Linked DNA regions of Homo sapiens: region 1 is linked to region 2. The links are contacts of gene promoters, found by promoter capture Hi-C in blood cells and fetal thymus (Javierre and others, 2016). All regions are on one chromosome and are shown on one strand. The core of a region is centred on a gene start or on the middle of the fragment in contact, and the rest is flanking DNA. Distances in the headings are between cores, read along the strand shown.

Region 1 (4,893 bases), core at 218-2,717, 220 kb after region 2:
GGGACCCTGGCTGACTCTGGAGAGGCTGCTCTGAGGCCCAAGTCAACAAGAGGCTATGGCTGTGCAGAAGGAACAGCGCGGCGGTGACCACTGCCCAGCCTGGACAATTCCCAGGGCTCCACACATCTCTCGGTCACTGCGACCACCAGTATTATCAGATCCAACCGTTGCACGTGCAGGCGTGACTTTCTGGGTGCCTGAGTGATGGAGACAGAGACAGGCCCAAGAGTCTGTGAGTGCAGATACACAAAAGGCAACAGCAGGCTGGGCCGCCGAACTGGGCCAGGATGGACTGAGAATCCTCAGGTGGGACAAGGATCCCAATTATTCACATTTCCTGGTCCCTTCTGTCCCCACCCCATGAGAGAGGCGCCCCCGCCAGAAATATGTGTTCCCCTCCTTTTGCAGCTGGGAAAACAACCGAATGTCCTGGCGCTGCTTTCTAGAACATGTTCAGGTCTCCCAGAGCCCAGTGGCCTGAGATTCACTGGGCAGCAGGTGGCCGCCTCTCCCCAGAGCCCTTCAGTCTGGAAGTCCAAGCACAACCCTGGCGTCCAGCTCCCCTGCCACCAGGATCCAGGTTACCAGAGGCCGTCCGGGGATCTCCGGCAGCGTAGGAGGGCGGGCCCGGGCTGCAGCAGTCACGAAAACTCCGCCGGCGGCGCCCGAGGAGTTGCTAGGGGAATCTGCTCCGCCTCTAACCCGGCACACGCAGGCCCACCTGCTTCCAGCATGCCGGGACAGTTCACTGAGAGAACCGCCCCCACCGCGGAGGCACCGAGGGTCCGGCTCGCTTATGCCCACGCAGCCGGCTAGACCTTCTGTGGGGGCTCTGCTTTCTCCGCGTTACACCACCCCGACCCCACAAGGCCACGAGGAAAGTAAATGAGGCCTCAGCCCGTCCCCAGACCCCCTCCCCTAAGTGTCCACCTTTGCGCCTAGGACCCCGCGTGGGCCAAGCCGGCCTTCTCCGCTTGGACCCCGCCGGGCCTACCTGCCTTGCGCAGCAGACCGATTTGCGAGCCGTTGAGGGCCATGTAGTCGCAGTCGGTGACGACCCGCACTCGCACCCCACGCTGGTGCAGCAACTGCACGGCGCGGCCCAGCTGCGGGCTGGAGAAGGCGAACAGGCAGAGATCCAGGCTGGCGCGGGCGGCCAGCAGGGCACGCAGCAGGCGGCTTAGCGCGCTCTCGCCGTGGGGCAGGCCGCACGGGCAGCCCTCGGGGAGCTCGGCCAGCTCCGCGCCCGGAGCCCGCAGCAGGGCCTCGGTACAGGTCACCTGAGACGGGAAGAACAGCGCCTCGCGCCGCGGCCGCCGCCGCCTGGACCGCAGCCAGCGCAGCACCCAAGGCAGCGCCTCCAGAGTCAGAGCCAGGCCCACAGCCGCCGCGGCCGCCACCTGCCAACTCAACCGTCCCATGCCGCCGCTAATCCGGGACCCACAGCCACGCCGCCGCAGCGGAGTCTGCGCGCCCCCAGCCCTAGACCGCCAGGCCACGCCCCCGTCACGCGCCGCCAGCGGCCATGTGCCAGGCCACGCCCAGCCCCCCATGGCCACGCGCCAGGCCACGCCCTATCACGTCCTGCCAATTGCCACGCACCAGGCCACGCCCCCGTCACGCAGCGCCAACGGCCACGTGCCAGGCCACGTGCCAGGCCACGCCCAGCACCCATGGCCACACGCCAGGCCACGCCCCCGTCACGCCCCACCAACGGCCACGTGCAAGGTCACGCCCTCAGCCCCCGAGGGCCACGCGCTAGGCCGCGCCATGCCCCCACAACTGTCACGCACCAAGCTGAACCCACGCCTCCCATCAGCCCGCCCCCAACCCTCAACAGGTGACCACGCCTCCCTCCACGCGCCAGGCCACGCCCCCTGCCACAGACACCCTCCACCCCCCAACGCCAGGCTGTGCCCCCCATTTTCCTTCCAGCCAGGCGCTCGGCCACGCCCTCCAGGTTCCACCTCCCACCACGTGCCAAGCCACGTCCCCAAGCCCGCGCCACCAGGCAGCACCTGCACACCCGCGGGCCACGGGCCCTAGCACACCCGTCACCTGCCCAGGCCAGAGACCGCTCTCCGCGCTAGAAGCCACAGCAACCCCGGCTTTCCTCGCATGGAGCACAGCAGAGCTGCTCTGGAAATGTGGGGTCACACCTTCACTGTCTTCTCGGGAGCAGCTAGGCTGGGCTGGGGAATGACCTGGGAACACAGATAATCAGGGAATCAACACAGCTGGAGGCAGCATTGGAACCCAGCATACTGGAGGCGGTGTCGGCCCAGAGGTTTTTTCCTAGCCCAAGAGGTTTTTTCCAGCCGGCGTTGTTGGAAGGCCTGCCCTGCTTTAAGCATAAACAGAGGAAGAGACTAAGGCAGCCGAGGGCACTGGGCCGGGGGCATAGGGAAACGGGGCAATGTGGTGGTCTGGGCTGGATCCTGGAACCGAAAGAAGACATTCACGGAAAAACTGGTGAGAGCCAAATAAAGTCTGGAGCTTAATCGCATTGTACCAATGTCAGTTTCTTAGCTTTGACAAATGTATGAAAGGAATGTAAAAGGTTAACAAAGGAAGCTGCGTGGGGGTAAATGGATCTCTCTGTTCTATATTCGAAACTTTTCTGTAAAGCAAATTATTCTAAATTAAAAGTTTATTAAAATATTAAACTTGCACCTTCCATATGATCCAGCTATCCCACTCCTAGGAGAAAGGGCGGGATCCATTAACACAAGCACGTGTCCTGGCAGGCGTATGTGCCTAGAACAACCCAAAAAGGCGTCAGCAGGTAAACAGGTAAATAAGCTTTTGTATATCTGTACAAGGGAATGCTATTTAGCAATAAAATAGAATGAAGTGGCCTGGCACGGTGGTTCATGCCTGTTATCCCAGAACTTTGGGAGGCTGAGGCAGGAGGACAGCTTGAGTTCGGGAATTCGAAACCAGCTTGGCCAACATGGTGAAACACTGTCTCTACCAAAAAATACAAAAATTAGCTGAGTGCGCTGACGTGCCTGTGATCCCAGCTACTCGGGAGGCTGAGGTGGGAGAATCGCTTGAGCTCTGGAGACTAAGGTTGCAGTGAGCCAAGATCATGCCATTGCACTCCAGCCTGGGTGACACAGCAAGACCCTATCCCCCCCCCACCAAAAAAAAAAAAAAACAGTACTCACATGTGCTACGACGTGGATGAATTTCATTAATATTGAGTGGGAAAAGCCAGACAAAAAGAGTACATACTGTATGATTCCATTTACATAAAATTCTAGAAAATGCAAACTAGATTGAGGGAAAGCAGACCAGTGTAGCCTGGAGGCCAACAAAGCCACAAGGAAGTGGAGTGATGGATGTGTGCTTATCGGGTTGACTGTGGTGGTTTCACAGGTATATACATATGTCAAATTGTATGGTGTAAATAACTAAAAATGTATGTCAGTGATTATGTCAATAAAATTCTTTTTTTTTTTTTTAAGACGGAGCCTCGTTCTTTCGCCCAGGCTGGTGTGCAGTGGTGCGATCTCGGCTCACTGCAACCTCTGCCTCCGGGGTTCAAGTGAGTCTCTGCGTCAGCCTCCCGAGCAGCTGGGATTACAGGCGCCCACCACCACACCCGGCTAATTTTTGTATTTTTAGTAGAGATGGGGTTTCACCATCTTGGCCGTGCTGGTCTCGAACTCCTGACCTCGTGATCCACCTGCCTCGGCCTCCCAAAGTGCTGGGATTACAGGCGTGAGCCACCGCACCCGGCCTTCTTTTTTTTTTTTTTGAGATGAAGTCTCGCTCTGTCGCCCAGTCTGGAGTGCAGTGGCACGATCTCGGCTCACTGCAACCTTCACCTCCTGGGTTCAAGCAATTCTCCTGCCTCAGCCTCCCAAGTAGCTGGGACTACAAATGCACACCACCACATCGGCTAAATTTTTGTTTTTGTATTTTTAGTAGAGACGGGGTTTCATCGTGTTAGCTAGGATGGTCTCGATCGCCTGACCTCGTGATCAGCCTGCCTCGGCCTCCCAAAGTGCTGGAATTACAGGTGTGAGCCACCGTGCCTGGCGAATAAAATTCTTAACAAAGAAAAAGAACACTTGAGTTTAGTGCTGGCTCCCAGGCTTCCTAGCTGCATGGTCTAGGGCAAATTGATTCATCTCTTCTGAGCTTCACTTTCCTCATCTAAAACGATAATGAGAGGAGGGACTTGGAGTTGTGGAGGTATAAAGAAGGACTCAAATCCCTCCAGAGAGGGATAAACAAAAATAAAACTGGGGGAAAACAGTTTTCAAAAACAGCCACTTCAGGGCTGGAAATCTACCAAAGGCAGACAACAAAATGAGAAGCTTTATTTGATTTTTATTTATTTTTTGTCTTCCAGTTTCTATTTTTAACTTTGTCGGTATATAGTAGGTATATATATTTATCGGGTACATGAGATATTTTGGTACAGACATGCAATTTGTAATAATCACATCAGGGTAAACAGGATATCCATCACCTTAAGCATTTATCCTCTTTTGTGTTACAACATTTAGTTATTAGTTTATTTATTTATTTATTTATTTGAGACGGAGTCTTGCTCTGTTGCCCAGGCTGGAGTGCAGTGGTGCGATCTCAGCTCACTTTGCAAGCTCTGCCTCCCAGGTTCACGCCATTCTCCTGCCTCAGCCTCCCAAGTAGCTGGGACTACAGGTGCCCGCCACCACGCCCAGCTAATTTTTCGTATTTTTAGTAGAGATGGGGTTTCACTATGTTAGCCAGGATGGTCTCGATCTCCTGACCTCACTATCTGCCCTCCTCGGCCTCCCAAAGTGCTGGGATTACAGGCGTGAGCCACCGTGCCCGGCCTAGTTTTTTATTCATTTATTTTTCAGATGGAGTCTTGCTCTGTCAGCAGTGACGTGATCT
Region 2 (5,057 bases), core at 1,195-3,694:
CAGAACTTAAGAGTGATGAACTATGACTAGGCACAGTGGCTCATGCCTGTAATCCTAGCACTTTGGGAGGCCATGACAGGAGGATCATTTGAGGCTAGGAGTTCAAGGCCAACCTGGGCAACATAAGAAGACCCTGTCTCTACAAAATTTTTAAAAAATTAGCAGGCATGGTGGCATATGTCTGTAGACCCAGCTACTCAGGAGGCTGAGGCAGGAGGATCACTTGAACACAAGGGTTCAAGGCTATAGTGAGCTATGATCGTGCCACTGCACTCCAGCCTGGGTGACAGAGTGAGACCCTGTATCAAAAAAACAAAAAAAAAATTGAAAAATTAATGAACTAGATATGTGGCAGAAAAAACCTCTAAGCAGCAAAGTGTGCAGGATGCTGTACATCCTCTCTTAGCTGCTCATAGTAAAATGCGAGAGGACAAATGATTTAAAGACGGAATGTATAACCACAAGCGAAGCAGAACACAAAGATTTGGAAAATTCTCAGCCTGGCCGCATAAAGAATAAAAAGGTGTGTTAAGGAGAAAATACCAAGGGTATGGCCAAGAGCCCATGTGATAAGGAGATGAGTATGGCTAGAAAGAAGCCAGGTGCTGTTCATCAAGACAGTGGGAGAAAGACTCTGAAGGGATTTGAGAGATCTGGATGACTCATCTCATCATAAGCCCAGGGCCCTTGGAGCTTGAGGGCAGAATGATTTGGGGGGATGGGCCAGGGGCTGGCTGCCTTGGGTCTCTACTCCTTGTGTTTTGGCACGATGCTCCTTGGCCACCCCAGCTGTGGCTCAAATGGGCCCAGGTGTGGCTTGGGCTGCTGCTCCAAAGGGTGCAAGCTGTGAGCCTTGGCAGCATGCATGTGTTGCTAATTCTGCAGGCACACAGAGTGCAAGAGCTTTGGGGGTATGGCTGCCTCCCCTTGAATTCAAAGAATGCCACAGAGGGATAGCCCCCATTAGGGCAATGCCCACCAGAATTGTGAGGTTGGGTCTAAAACTAAGACAGGCCCTAAGTACCCGGAGTCATCCTTGACTTCTCTTTCTCTCCCTGTCTCCTTCCCTTCCACCAATCCATTAGCAAACACTGTTGGCTTTACGTTCAAAATATGACCAAAATCATCTGAGCACTTACCACCTTCAGGCCTGCTTCAAGCCACCCCCTACCAGCCCCTTCTCAGAGGCCCCCCCACCCCCAGGTGCCATGTACTCTGTTAGCACCTGAGCCACAGCTGAGCCCTCCACTGCCCAGGAACCTCTGCCACTCCCCAGCTGCTCTGACTAAACACTGGATCTTTATAATGGCCCTGGGCCTTGAACCTGGGCCTTCTCTCCCTGAGCCCTCTGCCACTCTCCCCTGCTCACACCAGGCCAATGCTGACAACTTCCCCTCTGTGCTGTTCCGCTGCCTGGAATGCTCTCTGCCCAGATGTGTGCTTGGGTGACTGCTTGCCTCCCAGGAAGCTTGCCCAAATCTTGCCTCCTCAGTTAGGACAGCCCCGGCCATTCATCTCAAAGGCAAGGGGCACAGAGTATGGGCTCAGTACACGTATGGGGGAGGAGGGAGGGAGGGAGGTGGAGAGGGAGGAGGAGGAAGGGAGGAATGCACAGGCCATTTCATTCCAGCGAGAACAGGTCACAAGGCACACCCAAAAGCAACCCGGGTGGTACAAAACTAAAGATGACCGAAGGCCACCATGAACAGGCGGGAGAGGGCAGCTCTGTTCATCACCCCTGGGGCAGATGTGGAGACTCCAGATGTGTCACATCTGGACAGCCCCTTCTCTGCCCCTTCCTACCCCCTGCCCCGCCCATCCACCAGGGGTTCAAGACAATACAGGAGACAGTTGTCCTCCTCCCAGGACCCTGAGAATGGCTGGGGCTGGGGAAGATGCTCAGTGGCCTTTGAAACTCAGCTTAATTTTGCGCCAAACGGGTGACCCTGCCACCCCCATGAAAAGGCAGAGCACTAGAATGAGAGTCCAGACTATGGACTCTAGTCCTCTTGATGTCCCAAGCTCAGCATGTGACCTCAGACTAGGCACTTAGCCTCTGTGGGCCTCAGTTTCCCCTTCTGTCCAAATCAGGGGGGTTGGAATGTGGTCACCCAACTAAAAGCCCACTCTATACACTGAGCGTCTACAAATACAAGGAACACAGAGTTGATTTGTTAGGAAACCCATCACGTCCATCCTGACCTAGATGGGTTTCACTCTGACGTTGTGCAGTCAAATGCTCTACCCCTGAGCTACACCCCCTACTCTGACGTTGTGACCGCTGCACCTGGGCTGATTGTACCCCAGACCAGGGGCAATGTCACCTGGCACCACCCTTTCCCACTACTCTTCCCTCTCGAGAGAGACTGGGGTTTCACACAGAGCAGTCGAGCCCCATAAATAGCAGCTGGCCACTCACAGGCCAACCCTCCCAGGCCCCAAAAAGGAAGTGAGAGACAGGCAGACACTTCTGTTCTTCCTGCAGAAAGTGCTGCTTCTGCAGTGACTCGTCAGATGCTCCCCAGAGCCCAGCACAGACCCGGCTCCACCCACTTCTGTGGGTTGGCCAGATGAGTGAGAAACACAGGCACAGCCAACGAGAGGGAGCTGAGGCCGGACCCAGGAGTCTTTTTCCTATGGTAGGGGATATCTCTGTGTGAGGAAGCCCCATGGGGAGTCCTTGGGTGAGTTGCCAGGAGGAGGTGACTCAGGATAAATTCCCTTAGGAGGTGCCTTCACTTCTAGATCCAAAGAGTCATCCCCTACCTCCTTAGGGTAAAACTAGATTTTGAGTATCACGGTGTTTGTGGATAACCTGGCCCCAGTGAGTCCCCTTGCAAGGGCCTTTGGAGATGCTTCTGCACATGGACACTAGGAGCCATGAGCAGAGACAGTCCCTGCAGCAGCATCTGAAACCATGAACCCCAGGAAGACAACGTGGCACTGTTTTTGTCAGCCCTGCCTACGCTTTGCTAAAGTCTGTCCATTCAGCTCTTTTTCATGTTGACCGCACCACTGTTTCCTGCCCAGGTCCTGCCTGATATAGTAACCGGGAAAGGGATGAATGTGATGCAATGTGCTCTTGTAATGGAGCATCACAGAACAGGTCAAAGACACAAGCCACACAGCAACGAGCGCGGACAGGCAGGGCAGAGCACAGCTGCACGTAAGTACATTTTAAACACGGACCCCAACATAGCACTAGACATTGTTCATAATGCCTCCCTACATATGTAAAACACAAAAGTGGATTGGAGACACACAGAGGGGAGACTGCAGGCACCTCAGCCTCTCATCCCTCTTCTCATCAGGCCATTTCTGCTCTGCACCAGCGGTTCTCAACCAAAGTGCTTCTGCCTTCACTGTCAGGAGACATGTGGCCATGCTGGGGACATCTGGGGTGTCTCAATGATGGGGGTGGGAGGGATTGCTACTGGCATCTGGGGGTAGAGGCCAGGGATGTTCCCAACCATCCTAGGATGCAAGGGACAGCCCCACCACAAAGCAGGTGTGGCCCCAGCTCGTTCACAGCTGTCTACTTCCTCCTGGCGTAGCTGTGCAACTTGTACAACCACAAGCAACACGTATTTGTTTTACAAGGAACTCACTGGAGACAGCACCCAGTCTGAGAACTTTGTACTATGGAAGGGTTTTGTTTTTGAAAACCGAAATTACAGAATAAATTACAGAGAGAGAGAGAGCAAGAGCGAGAGCGAGAGAGTAAGAGAGAGAGAGAAACTTCACCATATGGGTTCAAATGAGCAACCTGGGTATTCTTGGCTCCTGGTGGAAAGGGAGGTGCTAATCTCAGGTGGGCCCACCTGCTGTGGCATGGGGCTTGGTTTTGAGCTGCTCCTTCCACTCCTGGCACAGGAGGAGCAGATGTTTAGGGCGGCCACGTGACTAACTGGGCAGCCAAGACCAAGACTCCTGTGCACGCTGAAACTCACGTTCTCAGTGGAAAGGAAAGATCTGCTGACCGCTCACTCAGGATGAGGGGTGTGGTGAGTCAGCCGTGGGGCCTCTGTGTGGCCCAGACCAAACAGCTGGTTTTGGGCATGGCAGAAGTCAATGAGGCAAGGCCCTGATGGGTAGCGCTGACCTGAGTGCTACCTGGCTAAAGCCAAGGAGGAGCCATGCGGCAGAATCCGTTCATGCAGCTCGCATGCTACAAGTGGCTGCTAGTGTCTTGTGGAGATTTAAACTTAAAATCTTGCTTCTCAGCCCCATCAGGTACATTTCAGGTGCTCAGCAGTGCACTTGTGCTTTGTGGCTGCCTTCTGGACAGCATGGATGCAGACCGCCTCCAACCATCCCAGAAAGTTCCATCACAGGCACTGAGCCAAAACTGGCCATGGTGATGGAGCTGCCAGGAGGGCGAAGCCCAATCTCACTTTGGTCAACATGGTCAACATGTCAGGGAAGGGTATCCAGGGACAGGTGCCCAGGGGCGGGTGCCCAGCTGCAGAAAGGTCTTCAGGGAACCTCCCTGCTCAGAGGCACTCTCTCAATGTCATCTCCTGCCTCCCAGCCCAATCACACTACATCCTGTCTTGGCTGCTCTCCTCCACTCTGCCCCAAGCCTGAAGCCATCTGTCCTTCCTCTAAGCTCCAGGAGTCTCTGGGAAGTGTTTATGGGTTAACTCTGTTGGAATGCACAGGGATTGCTCAGAATAAAGCTCACCAGCCTTTGTTGGCCTGGAGGCCCTGCCTGCCCTGCCTCTACTGCCTCTCTGTCCTCCCCCCTGGCTCTCTCCACCCCAGCCTAGGTTCCCCAAACACATCAGGCAGGGCCTGCTTGCGGCCTTTGCAGCTGCTGTTCCCTCTGCTCAGAATGCTCTTCCCCAACGCCCCCGGTCATCCCCCTGCCCCCCACTGCTTCAGTCAGATATCTCAAATATCACCTCATCAGAAAGCCTCCCATTCTAGCCGAAAGAGCTCAGGTATATGCACACTCACACACACACACACACACCCCCACACACATTCACACATGCACCACACTCACACACTCTGATTCTCACACACACTCACACACACCCTACATGCACACCCCA

What was found. The method cuts DNA at HindIII sites, captures the fragments that hold promoters and counts their contacts. A CHiCAGO score of 5 or more calls a contact.
Region 1: a contact is called between the fragment with the promoter of PLD6 here and the fragment with the promoter of LINC02090 in region 2, in 10 of 17 cell types (total B cells, M2 macrophages, M0 macrophages and 7 more). The highest score is 11.2, in total B cells.

The regions. Positions count from the first base shown.
Region 1 is chr17:17,204,866-17,209,758 of GRCh38, forward strand. It overlaps PLD6 (phospholipase D family member 6), which reads right to left and starts at 1,468. Exons shown (of 2, transcript NM_178836.4): 1 at 995-1,468. The coding sequence starts at 1,421. RefSeq lists enhancers at 487-606, 1,662-2,501 and silencers at 1,127-1,246, 1,267-1,316, 1,437-1,686, 1,727-1,776. The HindIII fragment of the contact is 11,264 bases long and covers 1-2,800 here.
Region 2 is chr17:16,985,885-16,990,941 of GRCh38, forward strand. LINC02090 (long intergenic non-protein coding RNA 2090) reads left to right here and starts at 2,445. Exons shown (of 3, transcript NR_146886.1): 1 at 2,445-2,639; 2 at 3,031-3,166; 3 at 4,225-4,292. RefSeq lists enhancers at 1,105-1,935, 2,568-2,787. The HindIII fragment of the contact is 6,040 bases long and covers 1,467-5,057 here.